2 separate regions of the Homo sapiens genome follow, and region 2 is linked to region 1. The links are contacts of gene promoters, found by promoter capture Hi-C in human tissues and cell types (Jung and others, 2019). All regions are on one chromosome and are shown on one strand. The core of a region is centred on a gene start or on the middle of the fragment in contact, and the rest is flanking DNA. Distances in the headings are between cores, read along the strand shown. Region 1 holds the start of DCDC2C (doublecortin domain containing 2C). Region 2 overlaps MYT1L (myelin transcription factor 1 like).

Region 1 (3,712 bases), core at 453-2,952:
ATGTCTCTGCATCATGTTTAACTTTGTAGAAGGGGCGACTAGCACATTTAAAGCTCTAATGGCGTGTCCACCTGCAGGATGGATGCTCTGAGATATTCCACAAGTGTCTTCTTTGATTTAGAAAGAGGGTCAGGCTAGAGGTGAGAGCTGCTCCCATGTAAAGATAGGAAATAATCTCCGGGAGAGACCAAGATGGTCTCTTCCTTCATTTTCTTATCAATTTGCTTATGTATAATCAACTATTAGAAACAACTGATGGGCATTTAGGTTGCCCATCAATTGTTTATTGGGGCCTGCTTATTCATGTATTATTTGGGCATCCTATCCCTACTAGCAGATTTTCATGGAAAGCCCAATTATCATCAATTAATAACTTATTTTAAAGCCCCTTCGGTTAAGTCTAAGCCAAAGGTTTGCCCGGGCCGTGGGCTCATTCGGCCACACATGTCCTGTTAACAGACTAGGACCTCTGCATCTGCTTGCTTTTCAGTTGTCTCCCAACCAAAGTCATCTGTTCGATAGCCTGACCCTAGAGCTCCAAGATGTCATCACTCACGCCAGGCTCACCATCGTCCCCGACGGGGGAGTGAGCCGCCTTCGGCTCCGGGGCTTCCCCAGCTCCATCTGCCTCCTGAGGCCCCGGGAGAAGCCCATGTTGAAGTTCTCGGTGAGCTTCAAAGCAAACCCTTAACACACACAAAGCCCCGGTGTCGGACACACAGCAGTAATTTCCCAGTCATAGTCTTCTTTTCAAATGTTTTGAACACCTGGTGATTTAATAAAGTGGTCGTCTCACAAATTGATCTCTGTATTTAATGTTGCTATGAGGCATTTAGTAGCTTACATACTGGCTATGGCTGTGACTGGTGGTCTCTACGGAACTACTTTTTTTGAACATTATAAGATATTAATACTCATAATATCAATATCTGTACCTTCGGTGTGGACTTCCAGCCGTAACATGTAGCCTACTGACTGTCTAGAATCACTCAAGGGGACTGGCCTATCTTTACCCAGAGTAGGAACGATTCTTCCAAAGACCCCCTCTCCCTTTGAATCATTCCCCAATGAGGATGCGTTCTGAATGGCACGCGCCTGACACCGCACACCAGCGGCTATAGCGCGGTTCCTCACGGCCTCCCAGTGGCTCTGCACACCTCCTCCTCTGGTGGAAAAGCTCAAATTCCCCACTCTGGGCCAGGAGTCCTGGAAGACACTGGGGCTGAACCGGTCAAATTCAACCTAAGATCAAAGAAACAGAGGCTCAAAAAATGTGAAGCAGATCCCAGCACCCATCCAATGTTGATTGTCAAGATGGTCCTGGTCCCTCCCTAACCCTCCTCTCTACCGCTTCTACAGAGGAAGGCGGCGAGTGTAGGGGGAGGAGGCACGGTGGGCGTCCCGGGGCGCTCAGCACAATCATGCTAGCCGCCTCCTCCTCCTCTTTTCCTGAGCTCTGCCGCCACGCCCCTCACCTGCCCGGGCTCCCCGTTGCCCCCTCACCTGTCTCCGCCCTGTGCCGCGCCTCACCTGCTTGGGCTCCCCATTACCCAATCACCTGTCCCTGCCCCGTGCCGCCTGCTCACCTGCCCGGGTTCCCCGTCGCCCCGTCTCCTGCCCCGGCCCCGAGCCCCTCGCCCTGGCGGCCAGGCGGTCACAATCGCCCAGGGTCGCGTCAACACGCAGCCTCCGCCCGCCTGGCAGCCCCGTCCCGTCCCCGTCCAGCCCCCGTCCCGTCCCCGTCCCGTCCCCGTCCTGCGCCAGCGGCTGGAGCGGACCTCCCGTCGGCGGTGCCCGGGCCTGGGCGCGGCTCTGCAGGCGTCGCTGCCCGCGCTGCCGCAGCCTCTCGGCCCCGGCGAGCGAGGAGCGGGGCGCGGCTATGGGAACCCGCGGGCCCTCCGCGCCGGTGGACACCACGCCCGCCAAGACCATCGTGGTGTACCGCAACGGGGACCCGTTCTACGTGGGCAAGAAGTTCGTGCTGTCGCGGCGCCGCGCGGCCACCTTCGAGGCGCTGCTGGAGCAGCTCACGGAGCAGGTGGACGTCCCGTTCGGCGTGCGCCGCCTCTTCACGCCCACGCGTGGGCACCGGGTGCTGGGGCTGGACGCGCTGCAGGCGGGCGGCAAGTACGTGGCGGCGGGCCGCGAGCGCTTCAAGGAGCTCGAGTAAGTGCGCCCGCGCCCCCCACGCGCCCTGCGCCCCTCCCCGCCCTCTTGGGTCTGAGCGTGGTCAGGGCCGTGCCCCCCAGGTGTCCTCCCCAGGCTTCCCTCCCGGCTCGGGCGCCCATCTTTCGGCGTGGATCCAGCGCAGCCGGCGTCGGGCCGCCCCAGGCCACGTGGTTTCCTGGGGGCGAAGCCGAGGCAGCCCCGCCCCCAGGGTCCCTTCCTATGGGGCAGGGCGGGCCCTGGCCGGCAGCGATTCAGGACCGCCCCAGAGACGGCCAGGAGGGCGTGGGGGAGGGGCGTGGGGCAGAAACAGGGGTGTGGAGGAGGGCGTGGGGGAGGGGTGTGGAGAGGGGCGTGGGGGGCGTGGGGGAGGGGTGTGGAGAGGGGCGTGGGGGAGGGGTGTGGAGAGGGGCATGGGGGAGGGGTGTGGAGAGGGGCGTGGGGGGCGTGGGGAGGAGTGTAGGGGAGGGGGAGGGGGGAGGGGCGTGGGGGAGGGGCATGGGGCAGAAACGGGTGTGGAGGAGGGCATGGGGGAGGGGTGTGGAGAGGGGCGTGGGGGGCGTGGGGGAGGGGTGTGGAGAGGGGCGTGGGGGAGGGGTGTGGAGAGGGGCATGGGGGAGGGGTGTGGAGAGGGGCGTGGGGGGCGTGGGGAGGAGTGTAGGGGAGGGGGAGGGGGGAGGGGCGTGGGGGGGAGGGGCGTGGGGGGCAGGGCCTGGGAATGGGGCGGGTTGGGCAGTTCCCATTTGAAATCGCTCAGGGTGACCCCTCTCACTCTGTGTCCATCACTTGGTCCTGCGTGCATTTTCAAGCTTGCCTTTAATTAAACTATTGCCCTCCCACGGTTTGTGTCTGTAATCCCATTATTGCAGCCTGTGTCTGCTTTCTGTGATCTCAGCTGCTTTTCTCTCCTGATTCTCTGTTTCCTTGTAGGTTTACTTATTTTTTGACTGTGAACTACTCCTTTTGTATAGCTTTGTGTGGGGACATTCTTCAGGGCTGAGATAAAAGTGAGATTCCCCAGAGAGAATTTCCATTTTCTTCTTTCAAATGCTCTCCGTTCAAAAATGCTCTGAATTAAATCAGCAGCTTGAGTTTTGTTTGTTGTTTTTTGAAAAAGTAGTAGGATTTAGTATGAGGGCTGGTGTATGGTTCCAAATTCTTAGTGGCATTTGCAAAGATGTGAATTTACCATTCAGTTGTTTCTGAAGAAAAGTCGTAAGTCACAGGCATCACAGTTGCTAAGAGGTAGAATCTGGATTAGCATATTTCAGATTGAAATTTATTACTATGATAATCCTGTTATGTATTAGAATTCATGGACAAAATTATATTCCTTTATAGCCATGTGATTTGTGATTATTTTTTCCAAGCTAGTCAGATGGTGTGAATATCTAGAACTGACATCCTACCCAGGATCCAGTGTTCAGTGCTGATTTACAATTAAAGAATATATCTCTACAAAAACTGCCTTTAAAGTCCCTTTCGATACATATATAATGAAAAGTATTTAATTTTATCCCAAGACATTTTCTTGTAAAATTGGCCT
Region 2 (3,712 bases), core at 326-2,825, 1.6 Mb before region 1:
ATACATGAGATTATTAGGAAATGCTTTACTGTCATAACTATGAAGAGACTATTGCCAGATGAACCACACATTAATACTATGTTTCTTATCTGCACATTACTACCCTGCAATTAATATAATTGTGTCCATGTACACACGCTGTCCTATGTACTTATCATGACTCTATCCCAAATTCCCAATTACGTCCTATCTTCTTCTTAGGGAAGAACAGCTTAGGTATCAATTTGGTGTTCTGTGTAAAGTCTCAGGGAGCCGTCCGTGTCCTCCCATCTGGCCTCGTCCACACTGGTTCTCTTGAAAGCTTGGGCTGTAATGATGCCCCTTGGCCATCACCCAGTCCCTGCCCCATCTCTTGTAATCTCTCTCCTTTTTGCTGCATCCCTGTCTTCCTCTGTCTTGATTTACTTGTTGTTGGTTTTCTGTTTCTTTGTTTGATTTGGTGGAAGACATAATCCCACGCTTCCTATGGAAAGGTTGTTGGGAGATTTTTAATGATTCCTCAATGTTAAAATGTCTATTTTTGTCTTGACACCCAACTAATATTTGTCTGAGCAAAACAGTCTAGATGAGAGAGAACTTCCCTGGAGGTCTGATGGCGTTTCTCCCTCGTCTTCTTACCTCTTGAGGATTCTTTGAATCCTTTCCCCTAGACCCTCATGCCCAGAGTCGTCATAATTTTCTCTTTGCTTCTAGTGTTTTAGTATTTCCCAAGAATGAGGGGGTGTGTAGATCTGTTTTCTCCCATCATGTGACATATCCTTCAGCTTTTCAAGGGCCATCGTCTTCCCTGCTTTCTTCAGTGGTTGTTTTCTCTCCATTTTCTCTGATCTCTTTCTGGAACTTACACGATTCAGCCAATGGTCCTGCGGGAGCTGGACAGACCCTCCAATCTTATTTTCCATCCCTTTGCCATTTTGTTCTAATCAGATTTCCTTTATCTTCTCACCTCTCTTGTGAGATTTTTTAAATTTAAATTTCAACACTCATCTTTAAATTTCTAAGTGATCTCTTAGTGATTCAACTCATCTTCTCCTTCTTCTACTTAAAATAAATGTGTTCTCATTCAGCAAACCCAATGTAGCTTCTCTTCTGTGACTCAGACAAAGTCAATGATAACTTCTTTGTTTCTCTTCAACAGTCTTTATTTTCTTCTTTTTTGTTTGTTTGGGTCCTTTTTATATTACAGGGCTTGCACGAACATCTAGAGATCTTCATTATCTGTTCATATTTAACAAGACAGCATTAGAAAGCCTCCTGGAAACCCTTTTCACATGGGCGGGGCCTTCTGACCTGTCGGGGGTCTTTGTGTGCTTTGCCTCCTGGGCTCCTGACTAGGGGTGCCTGTGCCCCCAGAGCATACAGCCAAGAACTGGATTCTGAGCCAGATGACATGAACTTGGATTAAAAAAAAGAACATGGCCAGGCGCAGCGGCTCACGCCTGTAATCCCAGAACTTTGGGAGGCCAAGGTGGGTGGATCACCTGCGGTCGGGAGTTTGAGACCAGCTTGGCCAACATGATGAAACCCTGTCTCTACTAAAAATATAAAAATTAGCTGGGAGTGATGACACGTGCCTGTAATCCCAGCTACTCGGTATGCTGAGGGAGGAGAATCGCTTGAACCTGGGAGGTAGAGGTTACAGTGAGCTGAGATTGCACCATTGCACTCCAGCCTGGGTGACAAGAGTGAAACTCTGTCTCAAAAAAAACAAAACAAACAACATAAAAACCACGTTTCCTTGATAATTCCTAACATATCTCTACAGGTCTCCTTGCTTGAGGCTGTCTACACTAAAGATGTTAACACTAGATATTCATGCCATGAGATCGGACACATAAGAATCTCTAGAAATTTAATGTAGAGAGCCTTGAACAAAAGGTTGTTTAATACCCATTATTTAAAACTAAGCTCTTTAGACACACAGGTCAGTTTGTATGTGATATCTGTATTCTTTAAGTATTGACAGCAGAACTGAGGAGGGGAGAAGCCCAGAGAAAGGGGCTATAGAAAATGGCAAGTGTGAAACCACATACGATGGGCAGACTTCACATTATTCCTCTTCACTCCCAGAAGCCACTTGGGGCAAACACGAGGTCAGTGCCTAGACCTGGTTGAGTTGGAGCCAGCTCAAGACCTAGCTTCAGACCCCCTGAGTACCTTGCTTGGGAGACTGTGTCCTAACAGCAGGTGAAATGGAGTCCACACCATCACAGTAAGGTTTGATGATTTCCAGTTGTTAACAGGATAGAAGTTGTCCAGGAGAACATGGGGAAGTGAAGTTTTCAAGATCAGGTGGAGGGAAGGACTCTGACATCCTGAAATGTAGATACGGTGTAGGTTTCCCAGGATGAACACATCAAGGACATAATTATCATGACCTCCCTGAGGGAGACTGAAAGTATCTGTGTACAGAGAGGAGACTTTAAGATATTGCTCAGGGAGTTTTTTGTGAGTTTTTTCAGTGCAATAATCTATACAATTCTGAATTAGAAACAATATAAGTTATTGACAATCTTCAACTGTTTAGATGAAATCACTGAGAATATTATGAAACATATAACATATCTAATAGAATTAATGTAGAAAAAGACAGATATTTCTATTTTAGTGAAATAAAAATACATTTCAGAAAAGCTTGTTGGAAAGTAAAATTTTCAATGAAATAACTTTTCCTCATTTATTTTCATTATGAAATATGAAACGATTCCTGATTAAAGTATTTTGGTGTTTAGATGTAATAAAGTCAAAATTAAGAAATGAGTGTATGACCAGGTACAGTGACTCTTGTGCCTGCCTGAAATCCCAGCACTTTGAGAGGCTAAGTTGGGAAGATCACTTGAGACCAAGAGTTGGAGACCAGCCTGGGAAACATAGGGAGAGGCCATCTCTAGAAAAATAAAAATGGTAGCCAGTCTTGGTGGCACACGCCTGTGGTCCCAGCTACTTAAGACACTGAGGTAGAAGCATAACTTGGGCCCGGAAGATTGAGGCTGCCGTGAGCCATGATAGTGCCACTGCACTCCAGCCTGGGCTACAGGGCAAGATCCTGTTTCAAAAAAAGAAAACAAACAAAAAAATCAAATGTACTTCTAAAACCTCATCACATTATAGTAGTATAGTTATAGCTACACTATTCAAATCAAAGATTAAAAAAATTTTAAAATAATTATAATACCCCAAATTAATGGCTACAAAGTCACAAATATATTCAAAGTTAGAATTTATAGCAATATAAAAACCTTGACAGCACATCTCCTCTGTTACCTTGCTGTATGCATTAATCCTTTCAAAGAGGCAGTCCTTCCCAAAGCAATTGCACTTTGATTAAATTGATCAGCTGCCTCAAACTCCTCATCATTTTAAACTCTTCATCCCGAGTAGCCATTTTAATCACCCTCCCCTAACCTGAAATTACCAGCCTCAGTAACCCGGCATGGTTTCCTGTAAGATTCTACAAAGGGAGCACATGTCTACCCCGCACTTCTCAGTGAGCGTCTTGCTTCCTTGCAATGAGTTCGCACTCAGAACAGCAGTGTCTCCATGCTGCCTCCCATTCCAATATGATCATGTGCATTTTTCACCTACTTGGAGCAGATGACACTTTTTAATTAACTTATAAAAATGCTGCTAATTTTGGAACTTAATAATTTCCTAGGGCATATCAATCTCTCTCTTTTATACACACACACACACACACACACACGCACACACA

What was found. Contacts are between HindIII fragments. The study calls those that stand out against the background at their distance.
Region 2: a fragment that was not itself captured here is called in contact with the fragment with the promoter of DCDC2C in region 1 in 1 of the 25 tissues and cell types used here (IMR-90 fibroblasts).

Annotation. Positions count from the first base shown.
Region 1 is chr2:3,701,873-3,705,584 of GRCh38, forward strand. DCDC2C (doublecortin domain containing 2C) reads left to right here and starts at 1,703. Exons shown (of 11, transcript NM_001287444.2): 1 at 1,703-2,166. The coding sequence starts at 1,880. It overlaps ALLC (allantoicase), which reads left to right. Exons shown (of 12, transcript NM_018436.4): 12 at 491-799. The coding sequence ends at 691. It overlaps LOC105373393 (a long non-coding RNA gene), which reads right to left and starts at 1,628. Exons shown (of 3, transcript XR_922732.1): 1 at 1,587-1,628; 2 at 936-1,242; 3 at 688-767. The HindIII fragment of the contact is 5,865 bases long and covers 1-3,712 here.
Region 2 is chr2:2,062,145-2,065,856 of GRCh38, forward strand. The region is part of intron 3 of MYT1L (myelin transcription factor 1 like); the gene reads right to left. Among named protein-coding and RNA genes, the nearest start is that of MYT1L-AS1, 260 kb to the right of the region's middle. The HindIII fragment of the contact is 5,658 bases long and covers 1-3,712 here.